2 separate regions of the Homo sapiens genome follow, and region 2 is linked to region 1. Evidence: promoter capture Hi-C in human tissues and cell types (Jung and others, 2019). All regions are on one chromosome and are shown on one strand. The core of a region is centred on a gene start or on the middle of the fragment in contact, and the rest is flanking DNA. Distances in the headings are between cores, read along the strand shown.

The links. Contacts are between HindIII fragments. The study calls those that stand out against the background at their distance.
Region 2: a fragment that was not itself captured here is called in contact with the fragment with the promoter of RNF152 in region 1 in 1 of the 25 tissues and cell types used here (liver).

Annotation. Positions count from the first base shown.
Region 1 is chr18:61,890,860-61,895,436 of GRCh38, reverse strand. It overlaps RNF152 (ring finger protein 152), which reads left to right and starts at 2,430. Exons shown (of 2, transcript NM_173557.3): 1 at 2,430-2,642. It overlaps LOC105372159 (a long non-coding RNA gene), which reads right to left and starts at 884. Exons shown (of 3, transcript XR_935562.3): 1 at 717-884. RefSeq lists silencers at 875-1,024, 1,095-1,244. The HindIII fragment of the contact is 14,100 bases long and covers 1-4,577 here.
Region 2 is chr18:62,535,471-62,540,047 of GRCh38, reverse strand. It overlaps ZCCHC2 (zinc finger CCHC-type containing 2), which reads right to left. Exons shown (of 14, transcript NM_017742.6): 2 at 256-367. Among named protein-coding and RNA genes, the nearest start is that of ZCCHC2, 15 kb to the right of the region's middle. The HindIII fragment of the contact is 3,955 bases long and covers 701-4,577 here.

The DNA of each region.
Region 1 (4,577 bases), core at 1,181-3,680:
GGACTCTTTCCTTGCGGATACTACGGACCTTAAGACAAAGACGGCTCCACTCCAGCAGTGGGGAAAGGCAGCAAGTGCCGCTGGAATCCGTGGGGATCACACTCAACTGAGCCCTGCTGCTGGGGACCGGGTAACGTCCGCAGGCTGAACTTCATCTCAAGAAGAGAGTTTTAGGTTTTCATGCTGCAGAGAAATCCTTTAAAAAGGCACCAAAGGGCATGGAACTATCTTCTACCAAGGACCTTTCTCCTCCATTCTCCTATTTCGCAGTTAACTCAAGAGGCGGGAGATTTTCTCCGGGGAACAAGACATTCTAAGCACCTCCCTAGGTCGAAGTTAGGTTTTAAGGTGTGGAATAGGGTGGGCCCCGAGGTTCCGTGGGGTTCGCGCTTCCATATAACCCCTAGGACTTGCATCTCTTTACTCCCCTGCTTCTTGTCCCCCATTCGAGGGATTCAAGTAGTGGGGTGTCCATTCGGGCCTCTTTGGAAAGCGGGGCCCCACCCTGGCTGGACTACGTGAACTTTTAGGGGCAGCCAAAAAGTATCCGGTGACGAGGATGCAGGGCAGCTTCTGGAAACCTGATGATCTCAGCTCCTCCCTCTCGCTGTCCGGGTCCTAGGCACAGACTGGGCACCCCCCAACCCACCCACCGCGGCCCCGGCCCCCTTCCCGGCCCTGCCCCTCCTCCCGGCTGCCCAGGCCTCCTTTCACACCTGCCGCCAGCTCAGGTCCCGCTTTTGCACGGTAGAGAGACGGCGTCGAGGTCCTGGCCGAGGGTAGGCACTGGGGGCAAAGCCGAGGGAGCGCGCGAGAGAGGGTAGGCAGCCCCTCACCCCGGGGGAGGTGGGCGATTCGGGACTGACGGAGAGAAGTCCCGGGCCCGCCGGGCTGTGGGCGGGGAGGAGGGGGTGGAGCCGCCGGGGAGGGCGGTGCCGCGGGGAGCGGAGCCCAGCCTCTCCCCCCACCCCCTTTGGTGCCGGAGTCTCAGTGACACAAAAAGCTCTCGCTCGGTGCCGAGCGCCTGGCGGCGGTGTCCGACCGCGAACGCGGAGGGCGGCCGGGCAGGTGGGGGTGCCGCCCGAAGGGCCGGGCCGGGTGCTGGGGCTGCAGGCGCCGCCGCCGCGCTGTCAGCGTCCGCCCCGTGGCTCTCGGCCGGAGGAGCGGCGGCCGCCGGCCCGGGGCGCGAGTCTGGCTGAAAGGAGCGGGCGCGCCGGGACCACCCGGCGATGCTGTCGCCGCCGCCGCCGCCTCTGTAGCGAGCACCCGAGCCCGCCGCGGAGAAAGGTCAGTGAGTTTCGGTTTGTTTCTCTGCTCTGCCGGCTCCGGATCGGGGGCGGACAGAGGGGTGCGCAGGGATGTCTGCGCCCCTACGGCGGCCGCGCCGAAGCCGTGGAAGCGGGAAAGGGCAGCTGCCGCCTGCTGTAACTGGGGAGATCTTCTGGACCGCGGAGGGGGTGGCGGGGCCGCAGGGTCCCGGGGAGGGGAGCGCGGGGTCTGGCGGGGCACGGGGGAGGTGGTCCCGGGAGTTGCGTGTCTCCTGAGAGCTGGCGGAGTTGGGCGGGCGGCCGCGGCGGGGAGCGGCGCTGTCGGCTGCTCGGCCGAGTCCTCGGATGCCCCCTGGAGCTCCGGTCCGAGGGAGCTTTCCTCGTGCCCGCGCCGCGCGCGCCCCTGGGTGTGCACGTGCGCGCGCGCCCGCCCCAGTTGCGCCCCCGGCCCGCACACACCCCGGCTCATCTTCTCCCGGTCCCCTTGTCTCGCGCCTTCTCCAGCCCTAGAAGTTGCCCCAGGGCCCCTCCCGGGATTAGAGAGCGCTGTGAAGGGCCAGATGTTGGGGGTCTTTTGTGCAGACACACGCGCCTGGGGCGCTTGCTCCTGGAAGGACAGCGGCAGGACAAAGCCAGCTGGACTCGTGGGGCGCTGCTCGGGAAGCGGCGGTCCCCAATCCCGCCTGGGGTCGGGGCATGGCTTGGGGAGCGCTGCCTGGGTCTGGAGAGAGTAGAGAAATCGCCAAAGCAGAGTGACGGTGACTTGATGAGGTGACGGTGACTTGATGAGGTGGCGGTGACTTGATGAGGTGGCGGACAGGGGCAAACGAAAGAAAGATGCTCGGGATTGCCGCGCTGTGTGCCTGTCTGCGCGGCTGACTAGGCGCCCCGCATTCCCATATGACCGGGTTACCTGGTAGATTTTGCCAGTGTGTCTTTGCCCCAAGATGTTATTCCCCACCTGCTCCGATTTCTTTCTTTCCTAGGGCTTACTGTTGCTAGTAGGCGCTCTGCCACCAGAGGGGAACTCGTGGGCGGGGGAGACTGCGGAGGAGGGGGGAGGTGGTTATTTATCCTGTAGAGACAATTAGGAGCCGTGACGCCCCCTTCTCGGCCGCCAGCCCTCCACACCTCATCTGCCTTGCTCCACCTCCCTAGTGCACCCGCTCCAGCCCCGTCTGCCCAGGAGGGCGCTTGGATTTCCTTCTCCGCGGCGCGTATCTAACCCTTCCTGCATGTATTTCACTGCAGGCTGAAGAAAGCTCAGTCTCAATTGTGTTTCCTGCCTGTCAGCCTCTTGCCTCCTAAACGTGTACCATTTCCACTTGATGTCATCACGCAGAAGGGGTGAAAGAGACTCGGTGACAGATACAGGTAACCCCCCACGATCTGGGTAGCGCCTGGGTGTCTCTGGGTCATTTGGGCCGACAGTGCTGGCACAGGGCTGTTTGGGTGGTTTCTGCATCAACATCGTTCCTATCTGTGAGAAGGTGTGGGGGCTGCTAAAACTCCTGGTTCAAAGAAATAAATTGCAAATGACTTTATACCTTCCCTTTGAAGAAGCCATTGGAGGTAGGTGCAGGGTGAATTTGGGATTGTAGAAATCCCACCTGGTTTCCTTTCATGGGAATTTTGATATAATTCATACACAGGCAGTTGTATCTGAATGTTAGGTTTCCATAGATGCCTGCTTTCTTATCTGTAGTAATAGATTTAGGCTTCAGTCTAGAGGTGGGGTATCCTTTGTTGAAAAGGTATCATTGGAAGGCTGATTGTACTTTTGCCCAGTGCTCTAATTGAGCACCGGTCAAATGCAGTGACCTTCGTATGAAATACTGTCTTTCTTCTGTTCCTTCATTGTAATAGTGTTTGCAATATTAAGAGAGACATGCTAGCAGTGAGTACTGGGAGGTGGAAGGGAGGGCTGTTGGGGGCAGCAGAAAGAGAACAGAGAAAACAGCTTGAGTGAAGTTTCCATTTAGATAGCCATGAACCAGTAGACTCTCATTCTGGATTTTATCTTTAGGTTATTGGGGCTTTTCCAAAAACTCTGGCCTGTTCTTTTCTTTCCAAGGATAGTTCTGTTTTGATGTCAGCCTAGCCAGATCTGGGGTTATCTTGATAAGAGTGCAATGAAAAAACGTAACCTTCAGACTTAGCAGGACACTCCGGCATTAGCATTTTCTGCTAGAGGGCAGAGTCCTGCGCATCCTACACTAGTAGCAGGGAATAAGAATGGTTATGGAAATGGGCTTTCGATTTTTCTTGTAGGAAGACAGATTGCTGAGGGCCAAAGGCTCCTGGTCTACTCTCTTTTACATTGCAGTAACACCTTGGTATCTGTGACAGATTCTCTCTTCACCATTTTCCTCCAAATCCCTTGAAAAATGAAGTTAAAAACTTGAAAGATTTATTATTCACCTCCAATGTAGTTTTGTTTTGGAAGGTGACTTTAAAAACATAGGTGACACTAGCATTTATCCTTCTACTACAAGCATTCAGGAGTCACTAGTAAAAGCAGTTGAGTTATCTAGTCCCAGGTGAAACAAAGGCCAGTGCTTTGCAAAGATCAGATGAGTAATGTGGTGCTAAGATAGAGGTATTTTTGACAAGTAATTTTTATGTCAGCAATAGTACAGGGTGTGTACTGTGTTGCTGCAAGAAGAAAAAACATGTGATGGGATAATAGGGAATGTAATAATGCAATAGAAACAAGGGTGTGGTTTTTTTTTTAATAGAAAGAATAAACACTTCGCACACAAAATTCCACATGGCAAAACAGTAGCCTGCCCATGTAAATGCACGTCCAAGAACAAAGATAGCCACAGTGCAGTGTTAGGTTTCATTGTGGTTTTAAATTGTGTACAGTAATAAATCATAATAAAGTGTCCATTGATGCTTAATTTTTTTTATATAAGAAGGAGGCTCCCCACCCTCAGATGTGTTTAGCTTTAGGCTGGAGGATCCCTAGAGGCTATTAGGCTGATCTCTGCCTCCAATGCCTGCTTCCTTTCTACAATGCTCATTTATTCATTTAGCAGATGTTTATTGGCACCTGATAGATAATGGACTCTGTGATAGATAATGGACTCAAGGGGTTGGGGTTGGGTGTAGGGGGAGACACAAAATTGAACTCCCTATAGGAAGACCTGATTCTAATTAACTTCAATGGAAGCTCAAGAGAGGTAGGATTGGACTTCTGGGGAGAGAAAATATGGTCATCCAGCCTCAACTTTAATGCCTCTTTCATTGAGGAGCTCACTGCTTCATAAATGGCTGTTGCTGTTGTCAGAAGGTGGCATTTTCATT
Region 2 (4,577 bases), core at 1,429-3,928, 640 kb before region 1:
TAAGATTCAGCCAAGACAATGGACTACAGAGCAGAATGACTGTGTGCGTGCTAGGACAAGCAGGGCTGTGGCGCAGGAAACACCCAGCGTGCAGATGGCAGAACTAGGAGGACTGGCTCTTGAGTGAAGCCTAGGACCAGTAGGACTTCTCCACTTCAAAAAGGAGAGTAAAAAGTTTAGAGTTAATCAGCGTAAAGAGCACCCTGTAATCTTTTGATGTATTAATGCTTTAAGTTTACAAAAAAGAGAGCATACCTTCTCGCTGAGCTCTGTGAGGTGCCACGGTAAGTCCGTCCTGAGGTATTGGAGCTTGCTCTATTAAGCTGCTCTCGTTATTTTGCATGTAATCACCATGAGCAGAGTTGTTCTAGATGAGAAAGAGGGAGATACGTTAACTTAAACCATGGACTAAGAGTAATAATCACAGATTTAGGTCTTCTCATTTTACTAACAACCATTTTAGTGGCAATTTTTAGAGGTCCAATAGGTGACTGCACACTATGGGCACAAAGGCACAGTGTGAGAGCCGCAAGCAGAAGATGAGCACTCTATTAATTATTGACTGTCCTAGCTTTCTTGGGACACAGGAAATTGCTTAATAATATACAGAGTTGCCAATGATGTCAATTCTGAATCCAAATCAAAGGAACACATAACAAATGGTGCCCTTTACACTAATCCTCCATAGGGAACGGCATGTGTACTTTTTACAAGAATCACTACACCATTTTTATTCATTGTTTGGTTTTAATAACAGTCTAAAAAGATGCTTTATTAGGAAAAAGTCTTATGAAAGGTATCATCAATACATGCCAAGGATTTCTAAACAAGAATATGTACAGGCAGGGAGTTTACCATTAAGGTTCAGTCATCTAACAGCAACTGGGTGCTCTAAACCTAACTGAGTTTGCTCAGCCAATCACTAGTGAACCGGGGTAACTTTGACTCCTAGATCCGATGCTTGGAGTAATAAAGGTGATGCCAAACTTACAAACAGCTCGCCAGAAATCAAGCACTGTCACATACAAACTGTTACAACATCATATTAAGTAAGTAAATAAATAGCCTTATGACAGTTTTTTATTACAGCTTGCACCTTATCCCCTCCCTTTATGTGCAGAATCTCAAAACACTACTCATATCAAAATCAACTTGGTTTTAAGAATCAATTATGATTTTACAAATCTGCAGTAAACATACATTAATATTTTTTTCTGTAAAAAATTAGGCAAATAGAAGACCCTAAGCTCCCCACAAATCTCAATTTAAAAATATTTTGTTCTGCTGTCTAATCACACATCCCGACCCGACAGTAAGTATGAATTGCTCTGTTTATGAGAACAGAGCACATTATATACTTTTGGGAGCTAAACTTCTGCCTTCTAGTCTGTCTTCCTTTATTTAGAAACCCAAGGAAACAAAGACTGTCTACCTAAAACCATTTAATAAGGAGAGTACAGACCTCTTCAGTCAACATCCAACTTCTGAAACACTTGGCCTGATAGCCTTTACCAATTTTCAATGCGACTGGTTTTTTAAAAATGCAGATATGAATTATTTTAATAACAAAACCATACATATCCTAACCCAGACCATATATTTTATTAAAAAATGTAAAACCACATTTACCCACGAGAGATTCTGCTTCTCAAAAATTTTAATATTGCTGTAAATACTTTAAAAAACAAAGAAAATAAAGTGCTATATAATCCTCTCAAATAGTTGTGTTAACTGGAAGAAGCTTGGGTGAATAGGTTAACCAATTCTTTCTTTTTTTTTTTTTTTTTGAGACAGGGTCTCTCTCTGTTGCCCAGACTGAAGTACACCGGCATGATCATAGCTCACTGCAGCCTCAAATTCCCGGCTTCAAGTGATCCTCTCAACTCGGCATCCCAAAGTGCTGGAATTACAGGTGTGAGTCATTGTACCTGGCCAGTCAACCATTGCTTAAAGCGAAATATTTCTCTACATTGCTCATATATAGTTCACAAATTTAAAGCAATACTTTCAAATGTAAACTAATGCAAAATATGAAAAAAATGTTTTCATTAGTGAGATGCATAAGAAGATACCACTTTATACCCATTAGGATGACTATTATTAAAAAAGACAGTGTTGGCAAGGACATGAAGAAAATGGAACCCTTACACATTGATGGTGGAAACAAAAATAGTATAGCTACTGTTGAAGACAGTCAGGCAGTTCCTCAAAATATTAAACACAGAATTATTTTATGACCCAGCAATTCCACTTCTAAGATACACCCAAAAGAACTGAAAGCAGAAATGCAAACATAATCTGTACATCAGTGTTCATAGCAGTTATTCACAATAGCCACAAGGTGTAAACTCAAAACCCATCAATGGATGAACAGATAAACAAAATATGGTGTACACATCCAATTACCTATGATTCAGCCTTAAAAAGGAATGCAATTCTGATACATAATAGGATTTAGATGAATCCCAAAGAGAGTATGCTAGGTGAAATAAGCCAGACACAAAAGAACAAATACAGCATGATTCCACTTATATGAGATACCTAGAATAGTCAAGTTGATAAAGAAAGTAGAATAGTGGCTAGGTGTGGTAGCTCACGCCTGCAATCCCAGCACTTTGGGAGGCCAAGGTGGGAGGATCACATAAGGCAAGTATTTCAAGACAGACTGGGCGACACTGCACGATCCTATCGCTACAAAAGAATTTTTTTTTTTTGTTAGCCAGAAGTGGTGGTATGTGCCTGTAGTCCTCGTTAGATGGGAGGACTGCTTGGGCCCAGGAGTTCAAGGCTGCAGTGACCCATGACTGCGCCACTGCACTTCAGCCTGGGCAACAGGGCAAGACCCTGTCTCTAAAGCAAACAAAAAAAGTAGAATAGTAGTTACCAGGTACTGGAGGGAATAGGGTGTTATTTTTTAAATGGGTATAGCATTTCTGTTTGGGATGATAGAATGTTTGGAGACAGAGGTGATGACTCATGACAACGGGAACGTACTTAATGCTACTGAACCGTACACTAAAAAGGAGAAAATGAGAATTTTATGCTATATATTTTATATCACAATAAAAACTAAAAATGGAAATGATCACACTGCCTCCACAAACATTAAATTGAAGCAACTGTATGAAAGTAGTTTGCTTCACAATCAAAATCACATTTTTGAAGTCTGAAGTTAACTTTATGAACCCAATTTAACCAAGTAACCTCCTGTTTAATAACCTAGGGAGAAAAATGAAGTTTGAGTTTCTATCCAAAGTCCTAAGTTCATCAACCCATGATATATCTACTAATTAAATGTTTATTTTCTCCTCCAAGTCTCAGCATGTATCAATGCTATAAAATCACGTAGACTATGTTTAGAAGCTATTACTAAACTCACTCATGTAACGCTGCATGAGCTGGAGATGAGAATCGGCAGCCCCAATGGTGGGTGGCTGCTCGGCGATGCTGTCTGCCCTGCACTCCCTCTTTACTTTCCTTAGGGGGATGGGTAGCATAAAATCTGAGAACTCCTTCTTTAATGGAATCATATAAAGAGGAATGGCACCCACTTTATCTGTTAAGTTCAGATTCCCATGAAAATGCAGAACAGATGAAATGCCAGAATCAGTATTTTACAAAGACTAGTTGGAGAAAAGTGTCAGGACCACGAGAAAAGTGGATTTTTCTCTGTTTGTATCAAGAAAGCAGGGTTTAAAGATTCTAAACCTGCAAAAATACGCACAAGCATACAAAGAACTTTAGTAGGAGTGCATTCTCCTTTCTTAACTCGCCTGAGGCAGAGCTTCTTCTGTCCTATCGCTTGCCTCAAGAGCTACTGGTTAGCACAAACCTACACGGCATGTGGTTCAGGTGGTCTAGATGGTTTTGCCACAGATCACACGTAGACCCATCACAATTACATACTTGAGATTTCTTAACTGTGGGGACCTTGTGAAACAGCCAAGTAGCTGGACATCCTAAAAAACTCTTCTCTGAAAACATACCATTAGAACAAAGGTCATAGATGGAGTTTTAGTTCGTCTAACAATATTCTACATGGTTCTTGTAGTCCCTCGATATAGACTATAAATTTAAAAATCCAAGATATTCCAAATATAATAACACAGCAGTAAGAGTTTTTTATTTTTTAAAACCAAAGTCACTAACTTCTTCTGAAGTTTTCCCAATTGTCAAATGAGACTTAGAAAATTAACAGCAATATATAACAACATTCTATTAAGCTTCCGTGGCGGATTAAAGGTAGCTAAAAATTATTTAATATTCCTCCCGCTGAAAAGTGGAACCAATTCCCCACCCAGTGGATCTAGGCTGGCTTTAGAATGTGCTGGTGGTGATGCTCTTCTAAAGTTAGGTCCTGGGAAGCCTCAGCCCTGGGCCTCCTGGACACTTGGGCTTGGAGTCCTGAGACACCACATGAGACATGCACTTCTCCTGGCAGCCGCACTTGATGGACCACGTGGAGAGAGGAGAGGGGTCTAGGGATGCCATCTGGGCCCCAGCTGTGTCCCAGACACCCTAGAACAGAGACAAACTCTTCACTATAGTTATTTGTCTAAATCCCTCACCCACAAAAC